Linked DNA regions of Homo sapiens: region 2 is linked to region 1. Evidence: promoter capture Hi-C in human tissues and cell types (Jung and others, 2019). All regions are on one chromosome and are shown on one strand. Each heading gives the region's core, a stretch centred on a gene start or on the middle of the fragment in contact. The rest is flanking DNA. Distances are from core to core; before and after follow the strand shown.

Region 1 (4,037 bases), core at 446-2,945:
CAAGGGCTGTAGACTAGGGGCAACTGAGGGGGACGGAGTGGGCACTGATGGACACATATACGGGATACAAATGAAGGACAGAGAGTCGCGGTGGTTAGGGAGGAGCCTTTGGGCCCTAGGGCAGTGGTGATGCTGATATAGGGTATTGGCGCTGACCAGTGGGAGAAGAGGATGAGATCCTGAACCTGGGTGGAGAGGGAGAGAGAGCTGGCAACAGCCAAAGCCCTCAAATGAGCCGCTGCCTGTGCTGGGGGCACCTCGGCCAGCCCCAGAAACCTGGGGAGTGCTGGAATCAGCCCCACGGAAAAAGAAGCTGGCATGCGCAACCCTGGCGACGCCCGAAGGGTTTGGAGAGAAGAGGTTCCAAGGAGCGAGCACCTCGGAAGACCTGAGCAGCTTCAAACAGCAGCTTCTCTGCCCGCCACAAGGGGGTGCCCTGCACCTCGGGGAGACCTCGGGGGATCCTGGATCAGCCCTACCCTCTGCAGCCCCGCCTGGGACAGGGCCCGACGTTGCCAGAGAAGAGGCAGCGGGGAGGCGCGAGCGAGACGGGTCCACACTGTGCCCACCCAGGGCTGCCCGGCACCCCGCGCGCCCACGCAGTCCACTCTTCACAGTAAACGCCGCGGCCCCCGAGGGTTAGCCCTAAGTGGCGCTCTCTTTGGACGTTAGGCTGTCGGGGGCCCCGTCCTTCTTCCCCAGCGGGGACGGTGTCTCCGGAGTCGGGTCCTAAGGAAGAGAGCAGCGCTGGCTCTCGCTCACCGCCAGCCCGCCCGACGGCCATAGGGCAGGGGGGGTCGCGCCGGTGGGGCCGGCAGGGGTCCCTGTGGGCCGCCTCCCCGGCTCAGAGGGGACCAGAACCGTGCGTGTCGCCGCGGCTGGAGTCAGCCTCCGGGTGTCCCCGGACGCGGCACGACCTCGCACACACACACCGCGCGCACACGCTCGCGCCGTGCGGTATTTTCCCGGCCCCGGACCCCGCCTCTGGGAGGGGCCGGGGAGCCGAGCCCCGCTAGCAGGGTTGGGGGACCGGGAACGCCTGGGTCCCAGCCCTCGCGTCAGGGCTGTGCGCCACCTTCCCAGCCCCTTTTGGCGCGCCGGCTCGGCCCCTGGCGCTGCCACCCCTCGGCCCGCGGGGGTCCCGGAGGCTCCCGGGCGCGCGGCGGACGAGGTTGTGGGGACGGGTGGGAGCTGCGGGCTTCGGGCCGAGAGGCGGCTCGGCTCCGCGCCGGGGAAAGTTTGGACGTGGGAAACTCCCTCCCCGCCCTCCCGGCCGAGAGGAGGGGGCGCGCAGGGCCGGGCGCAGGCACCCCGGCTCCTCCTGCGGCTGGAGGCTCGCCCCCCGCGCCGCCTGCCCGGCCGCTCCCGCCGGCCAGGGGGCTCCCTCCCTGCCGGGCAGCCTCCCCTCGGCGGCGATCCGGCCGCTCCTCCCGCGGCACCCCGCGCTCTTACCTCGGGGAGCGGCCCGGGGCTCCCCCTAGTCCTGCCGCCTCGGGACGCTGCGTGGGGCGGGAGCCCCGGCGCGGGCAGCGGGCGAGTCCGGAGCCCCGCGGCCGCCCGCAGGAGCCGGAGGGAGAGCGGGAGCGAGAGGGGGAGCCGCGGCGGCGTGTGCGCGCGTGTGTGTGAGCGAGAGAGCGAGAGAGCGAGAGAGCGAGGGAGTGAGCGAGCGAGCGGGAGCGAGGGAGTGTGCGTGTCTGACTGGGGGGAAGTGTGCAAGGGACGGATCCCTTCCTTCCTCCCGCAGCCTCTGGTGGAGACTCGGAGAATGCAGGGCCCGCCGGGCAGGAGCCGCGCAGCGCCAAGCCGCAGGCGGCCGCCGGCCCGGACCCCCGCAGCCGGGGAACCCCAGCCCCCGCCCCCCGGATCGCGCCCCTCCTACACCAGGAGGGGACAGCCTTTCCCTCTCTCGGGCGGCCCAGTCCCAGGAAACCCCCCAGGGGACAGTGCCCCTCCCTCCTCCAACCCCAGATCCGCGCGAAGGGAGCGCCCCCAGGAGGGGGACCATCTACCTCCTCGCCTGGCAGCTCCCCAGGTGGCCGCAGTTTGAGACCAGAGCCTATTTCCCCACCTGATTTTACTGCGAATAGGGCTTCCCATTTCCGCCCCCTGACTACTGCGGGAGGCCGCCTTCAGAGGAGCAGGGGCGCAGGCCAGGGTAGGAGCAGGCTTCTCGAACAGTGGCCGCCCCGGCTTGCTGCCCAGAAAGGCACCTTGCACAGACCAGATCTGCCAGTTCAGAAACAGTCACTGTGCATTGAGGTGGACACCGACCAGGTGCCCAGGGCTGAGTCTCCAGGCAGGTGGGAGGTCGGGTGTCCCCGGGAGAGAAACTTGTGGGCTTTTCCTCTGGAGAGTCCCGCTGGACATCCTTGCAACCAACAAAGTAAGCAGGCAAAACAAGACACCTCCATCCTTAACTTGGTGCCACCTTGACCTGGAGAAGTCTCCCAATAAAATCTTCCCACTGCCCAGAAACTCCTTGCTGGTTGGGTTTTCCGTTCTTTTAAAAATCCGGCTGGTCTGCTCCCTGATGTTTTTTCCACCTGGCCCTGTTTCTTTCTCCTGGCTGCCTGGCTCTCCTTACTACTTCATCTCTCTGGGATGAGGCCTAATGGAGGAGACCCTCCCACCCCACTCCTGAGTTCCCAATATGAGGTCGTTGATGGTAGGATAGGACCAGTGACTCCCATAGACCCACCCTTTGTCTTGGGTTGTAGGTCCCCTTAGGAGTTGCCCGCCCCCCTATTCCCCATGGCTTCCAGATAGGTGAGTGAAGGATAACAGGAGACTGGACAGCTGCAGACCTCTGTCCCGCCAAGCTGCCAATGACCAGCCATTTAATCACCCACAAGCAGCTGCTGAAGTTCATGGCAAAGAGGGGGCAGGGCCCTCCAGGACCCCCAGCTCTACCTCGCCCCTATCCTTCTCTCCTCCTCGCCTCCTTCCCCAATTTCCATCTCCATCTCCACACCCTAGTCCGTCTTGCTGATGATTGGAATCACCTCTCCTGCTGGCTGCCCCTCTGGCCCCTCCTACTAAACTCCATCATTCATTTATTTATTTTGAGATGTATTCTCCACTGTGCCAGTCTGTTCCCTCCCCTACGTCCTTCTCTTGGTTTATTTCCCTTCATTGATCTCTTCCAGCCTTGCCTTTCTATCGCCTTCCTTTTCTCCATCTCTCTCTTCCCCTCTCCTCTCTATTCTTAGCCTCCACTCTTTCATGCTTTCAGAGACCAGAGGCCAGCCTTCCAGGTGCATCTCTTCACTTTTGGTTCTCTCCTCCCGCTCTGACTCACTTTTGCTGTTTGCTCCAGTTCCCATTCCTTCTTTGCCTCTTCCTCCAGGCTCTGGTGTGTGCTGTTCATCTCTGGAGTCAGACCTACTTAGTTGTCCACAGGTTGTTTTGGTCTGGGACACTGTTGCTGTCACATCTGCATGCACACAGTAGGTGCTCAATAAATGTTATTGAATGAACTGTTGTCACATCTTTCTCTTTTGCTCTGGTCTCTCTCTTCTCTCTCTTTTATTTTTATTTTTTTTTGAGATGGGGGTCTCACTATGTTGTCCAGGCTGGATTCCTGGACTCAGGTGATCATTCTGCCTCAGCCTCTCAAGTAACTGGGACACCAGGCATGTGCTGCTGCACCCAGCTCCCCATGACTCTTTATTAGACCCTCAGGTTTTCCTATCCCAATGTTTCCTATTTTCAGGCTCATTCTACCGTTATTTCCAATTCTTCCTTCCTTCAACAAACTTTCTCTGAGTGTCCACTCTGTTGTGAGCACTATGGCTAGGCTCTGAGAACACATTGAATGTTTATTGAGCACTTGCTGTGTGCCATAGTTCTGCTTTTAAGTCCTCACAATAATCAGATACTAGTATTAGCCCATTTTACAAATGAGGAAACTGAGACACGGTGTTGAAATAGCAAGATCATTCAGACGGCAAGTAGAGAGATCAGGTTGACGCATTGGGCCTGGGTCAGACCTCTCACTCTGGTCTGGGAGAAGGTAAGCTGGGACTCCTGCTGCAGTG
Region 2 (4,037 bases), core at 1,133-3,632, 43 kb before region 1:
CTTTGTCCTGGCCTCAGCATTCTGCCCACTGGCTGTGGGTGCTTCATTCTTGCTCTCTGTCCTTCAGCTCACACTTCAGTGCTGTGATCAGAGTTTGCACTACTGAATGTGTGAGTGAATCCATGAAGGGATATGTGGATGGATGGATGAATGGATGAACGGAAGGACACATGATGGGGTTGCCTGGTTACTGCTGTACCCCATCCCTCAGACTGCTCTTCTATGCTTGTTCCACTTATGGATTCATCAAATATTTATTGAGCACCTACTATGTGCCAGGCTAAGTATGCAGCAGTTAGAAAGTCAGACAAAGTCCCTGTCCCCATGGCCTTCCATTCTGTGTGTGTGTGTGTGTGTGTGCGTGTGTGTGCATGTGTGTGTGTGAAGCAGGGGAGATACATTTACTCATCCAACAACCTCACAAATAAATGCACAATTACCAACTGTGCCAAGGTCTGCAAAGAGAAAGTACAAGGAGCCCCCACATTTATAGGGGACACTACCTCATTAGGGATGGGTGGGGCAAGTTAGGGAACAGTTCCCTGAGAAGGGGTTTTTTAGCTGAAACCCAAAGGATGAGTGAGATGTACTGAGGCACAGGTGGCAGAATGTGCAGAGCCATATTTAGGGGACCGAAAGGCCAGGGGAAGAGCAGAGTGTGAGGGGAGAAGCTAGGGAAACAGCTGAGGACGGGCCTGGAGGAGTTGAGATTTTGACTCAACCAGAAGGCACTGAAGAGCTTTTGGCGGAGGAGATGTGTTCAAGGTTGTGTCTTAAAAGAGGTCACTGTGCTTGTTGCTGGAAGAACAACTGTGGATGTACAAGGCTGGAACTGGGGACCCGTGAGAAGGTGGTGGCAGCATCTGAGGAAGAGGGTGGTGGTGGCTCGGACCAGGGAGGCTGGCGTGGGATGGAGAAAAGGTAACAGATTTGGAATATTTAGGAAGCAAAATGGATCAGAGTTGGTGATGAATCAGATGTAGCGGACGAGGGAGGGAGAGACATCAAGAGTGACTCCCCGGATTTTATTTTTGTTTTAGCTGACGTTTTTTGATCACCTACTAAGAGCCAGGCACTGTTCTAGCACTTTATGTGCATTAGCTTATTTATTCCTCACAATAACCCCATAAAGTAAGTTATCATTATCCCCTTCACAATCTCACTTCACTCCAATGAGAAGGCTAGGCAAAGGGACACAGTGGAATGTGTCCCAAGCTTTGTTCCTTTGGGGAACAACCTTGGCAGATCACAGGCACAGGGAAGGAAGAAAGAGAGGCCAGTTGCATACCTTGAGCTGATTCTGAGTCAGTGAGAATAATGATAGATAACATTTATAGCGCTTTTACTATGTGCCAGGCATGGTGCCATCCAATTAGCTAATAATAAGAGGTAACACTGAGTTCCATGCAGGGCACTTTATATCAATGATCTGATTGAATCCTCACAATAGCTGTCTTTAAAATTTCTATTACAGAATCAGGAACAGTGGCTCAGAGAGGTTGAGGGACTTGCCCAAGGTCACACAGCTAGTTAGTGGAGGATCTGGAATTCAAACAGGCTCTGGCAGTGGGAGGGAAATGAGGATGGGCCGGGAGGTGCTCAGTGGCTGCTGGAAAGGACAGGCCTGCGTTTGGCTCTCAGCATGAACCATGTCCTTCCCCCACGCTACTTGACGTGACTTAACCCAGGCCTGAGTCCCTCCTTAAGGCCTGACCTCCCGTGCAAATTATGAACATGTATGAGTATGCACACACACACACACACCATGCACACACACACACCGTGCACACACACACACCGTGCGCACACACACACACCGTGCGCGCACACACACCGTGCGCACACACACATACCGTGTACACATGCAGACTCCTTGGCTAGCACTGCTCACCTGCCCAGGGGCAACCTGTTAGAACCCTCCACCTCAGGTGCCCCTGGCCTGCACCTGTCTCCCTGCCCTGCCCCCACCCTGCCCGTGTGCCGGTGCCACCGGCAGAGCCGTGCTGTACATCATGTTGACAGTAGAAATTACATCCCGAGCTGCTGTTTTACACCGCGCCCTGTCAGAACTCACTGCAGCCCAGTGATCAGGACAAATTGAATACCATCCTGGCCGTGTCAATATTTATTCCATTTTACAAACGCGTCCGGATGGGGGCAGGGCCCTGCCATGGTGCCAGCCAAGCAGAGTCCCAGGAGGCCCTTCTCCCTCCAAACCGCCTCCTCCTTGCTCTTTTCCCCTCTTCCTCCTCCTCTTTCTCTACTTTTCATAATTAATTAAAATTGTACAATTCAGCCTTGATAATGAAAGCTGCACAAATCATACATGCATAGTTTAACGAAAAGTCATAAAATGAACCCATGAATCCACACTTTGAGCAAAATACTGAAAATAGCCCCCTCCTCAGAAGCTCCTACTGTGTGTCCCATTCTTGAACATAACCCATTGGTTCCTTCTGTCCTGGCTTTTATGACTAGTTCCTTGCATTTCCTTATTGTTTGTCTCCCAACTATGCATTTCTGACCATCTTAGTTTAGTCTTGCTTGTTTTTGAGCTTGTATATCATACTGAATGGTCTTTTGCATCTTGCTTCTTTTTCTCAGCATTATGTTTGTGAGATTCGTCTTTGTTCTTGCATGTGTTCCTTTTCACTGCTGCATAGTACTCCATTGCATGAATATACCGTGACTTAGAAATCCATTCATCCATTCTCCTTTTTCTTCTTCTTTCCCCTTTTCTCCCACTTTTCCTTCCCTTCCACCTTCTTCTCTTCTTCTTCCTACTTCTCTTCCTGTTCCACCTCCTGGTTGCCTGCCCCCTGTTGTTCTATTGTTTTGTCTGCTACATCTGGGAGCTGTGCACACATTCACACAGATACACACACACACACACACACACACACATTGATCCCAGCTCCTCCATCCTACTGAACTACTGGGGGCCCAGATGCCCCCTCTGGGTCTCTCTCTCTCTCTCTCCCTACCCAGATTTTGGGTATGTGGCTCCAGCCAGAGGGAGGCTCTCTGTGGACCTGAGTCTATTAAAGTTTATCTGTTTTAGAGGATTCCTGGGGCAGAGACTGGGGGAATGGTACAGCAGGGTCCTTTGTCCTCACACATCCTGTCTCTACTGTAGCAGCCTTGGGGAGAAGGCCTCTCTTCCCACTCTCACCTACTCTGGGCTGGGGTGGGAACTGAGGTGGCCCCAGGTGGCCTTATGGCTGTCCGTAGGATGCACAGCTGTGCAGGGAGAGAGGACTGGGACCTGGGTCATTCAGGGGCCAAGCCTCAGCCTCAGCTCTGCTCATTGAAGGTCTTGTGGAGCACCCGTCCTGTGCCTAGCATTGTGTCTCACCAAGGCAGAGAAGGACCTGCAGGCTGGTGTGTGTCTGGGGCCTCCTAGGAGCCATTACAGAGCAGGTTTGGAGACCCCAGGAGCATGTGTGACACATTTCATTCCAGTCTCCCTTAGCCCCTTCTCTGTCTTGGAGCTGCTTTGATGATGCACATATTCGGGATAGTTAATTTTTATTGTAACCTGAGCAGATGACATTAAAGAATCTGTCCCTTTGTGGTACGGGAGAAAGCTCTCTAGGCTGGACGGCAAGTGGAGTAGGTTGGAGCTTGGCTTTGATCCCATAACACTGGGTGACCTTGGGCAAGTCCCTGCCCTGGACTTCTATACAATGGAAGGTCAAACTGCAGTTCTCAGGGCTCATCAGAGGACAGGGTCATGCCGGTGTATAGCAAGGTGAGGCTTGTTCAAAATCTCATTGCCAGGCCTCTGGAGCCCCAGATTCAGTAAGGATGATAATAGTACTAACAGGAAGGTCTATAGGGTGCTTTTTTTTTTTTTTGCCTTTTTCCACATGTTCTAATAGGGTGCTTTCTATGTGCCAGAGACTGTGCCTTTGATGAGCAAAAAGAAGAGGCTGTACTTTTTGACCACTCTGCTAAGCACACTCCATAGGTTATCTTGCTTCATCTGTGCCACATCTGTTTTATTATAATTGTTATATTACAGATAAAGAAACTGG

Evidence for each region. Contacts are between HindIII fragments. The study calls those that stand out against the background at their distance.
Region 2: a contact is called between a fragment that was not itself captured here and the fragment with the promoter of CDH22 in region 1, in 1 of the 25 tissues and cell types used here (liver).

The regions. Positions count from the first base shown.
Region 1 is chr20:46,306,803-46,310,839 of GRCh38, forward strand. CDH22 (cadherin 22) reads right to left here and starts at 1,696. Exons shown (of 12, transcript NM_021248.3): 1 at 1,453-1,696. The HindIII fragment of the contact is 29,361 bases long and covers 1-4,037 here.
Region 2 is chr20:46,263,069-46,267,105 of GRCh38, forward strand. All of the region lies in intron 1 of CDH22 (cadherin 22), which reads right to left. Among named protein-coding and RNA genes, the nearest start is that of CDH22, 43 kb to the right of the region's middle. The HindIII fragment of the contact is 4,356 bases long and covers 205-4,037 here.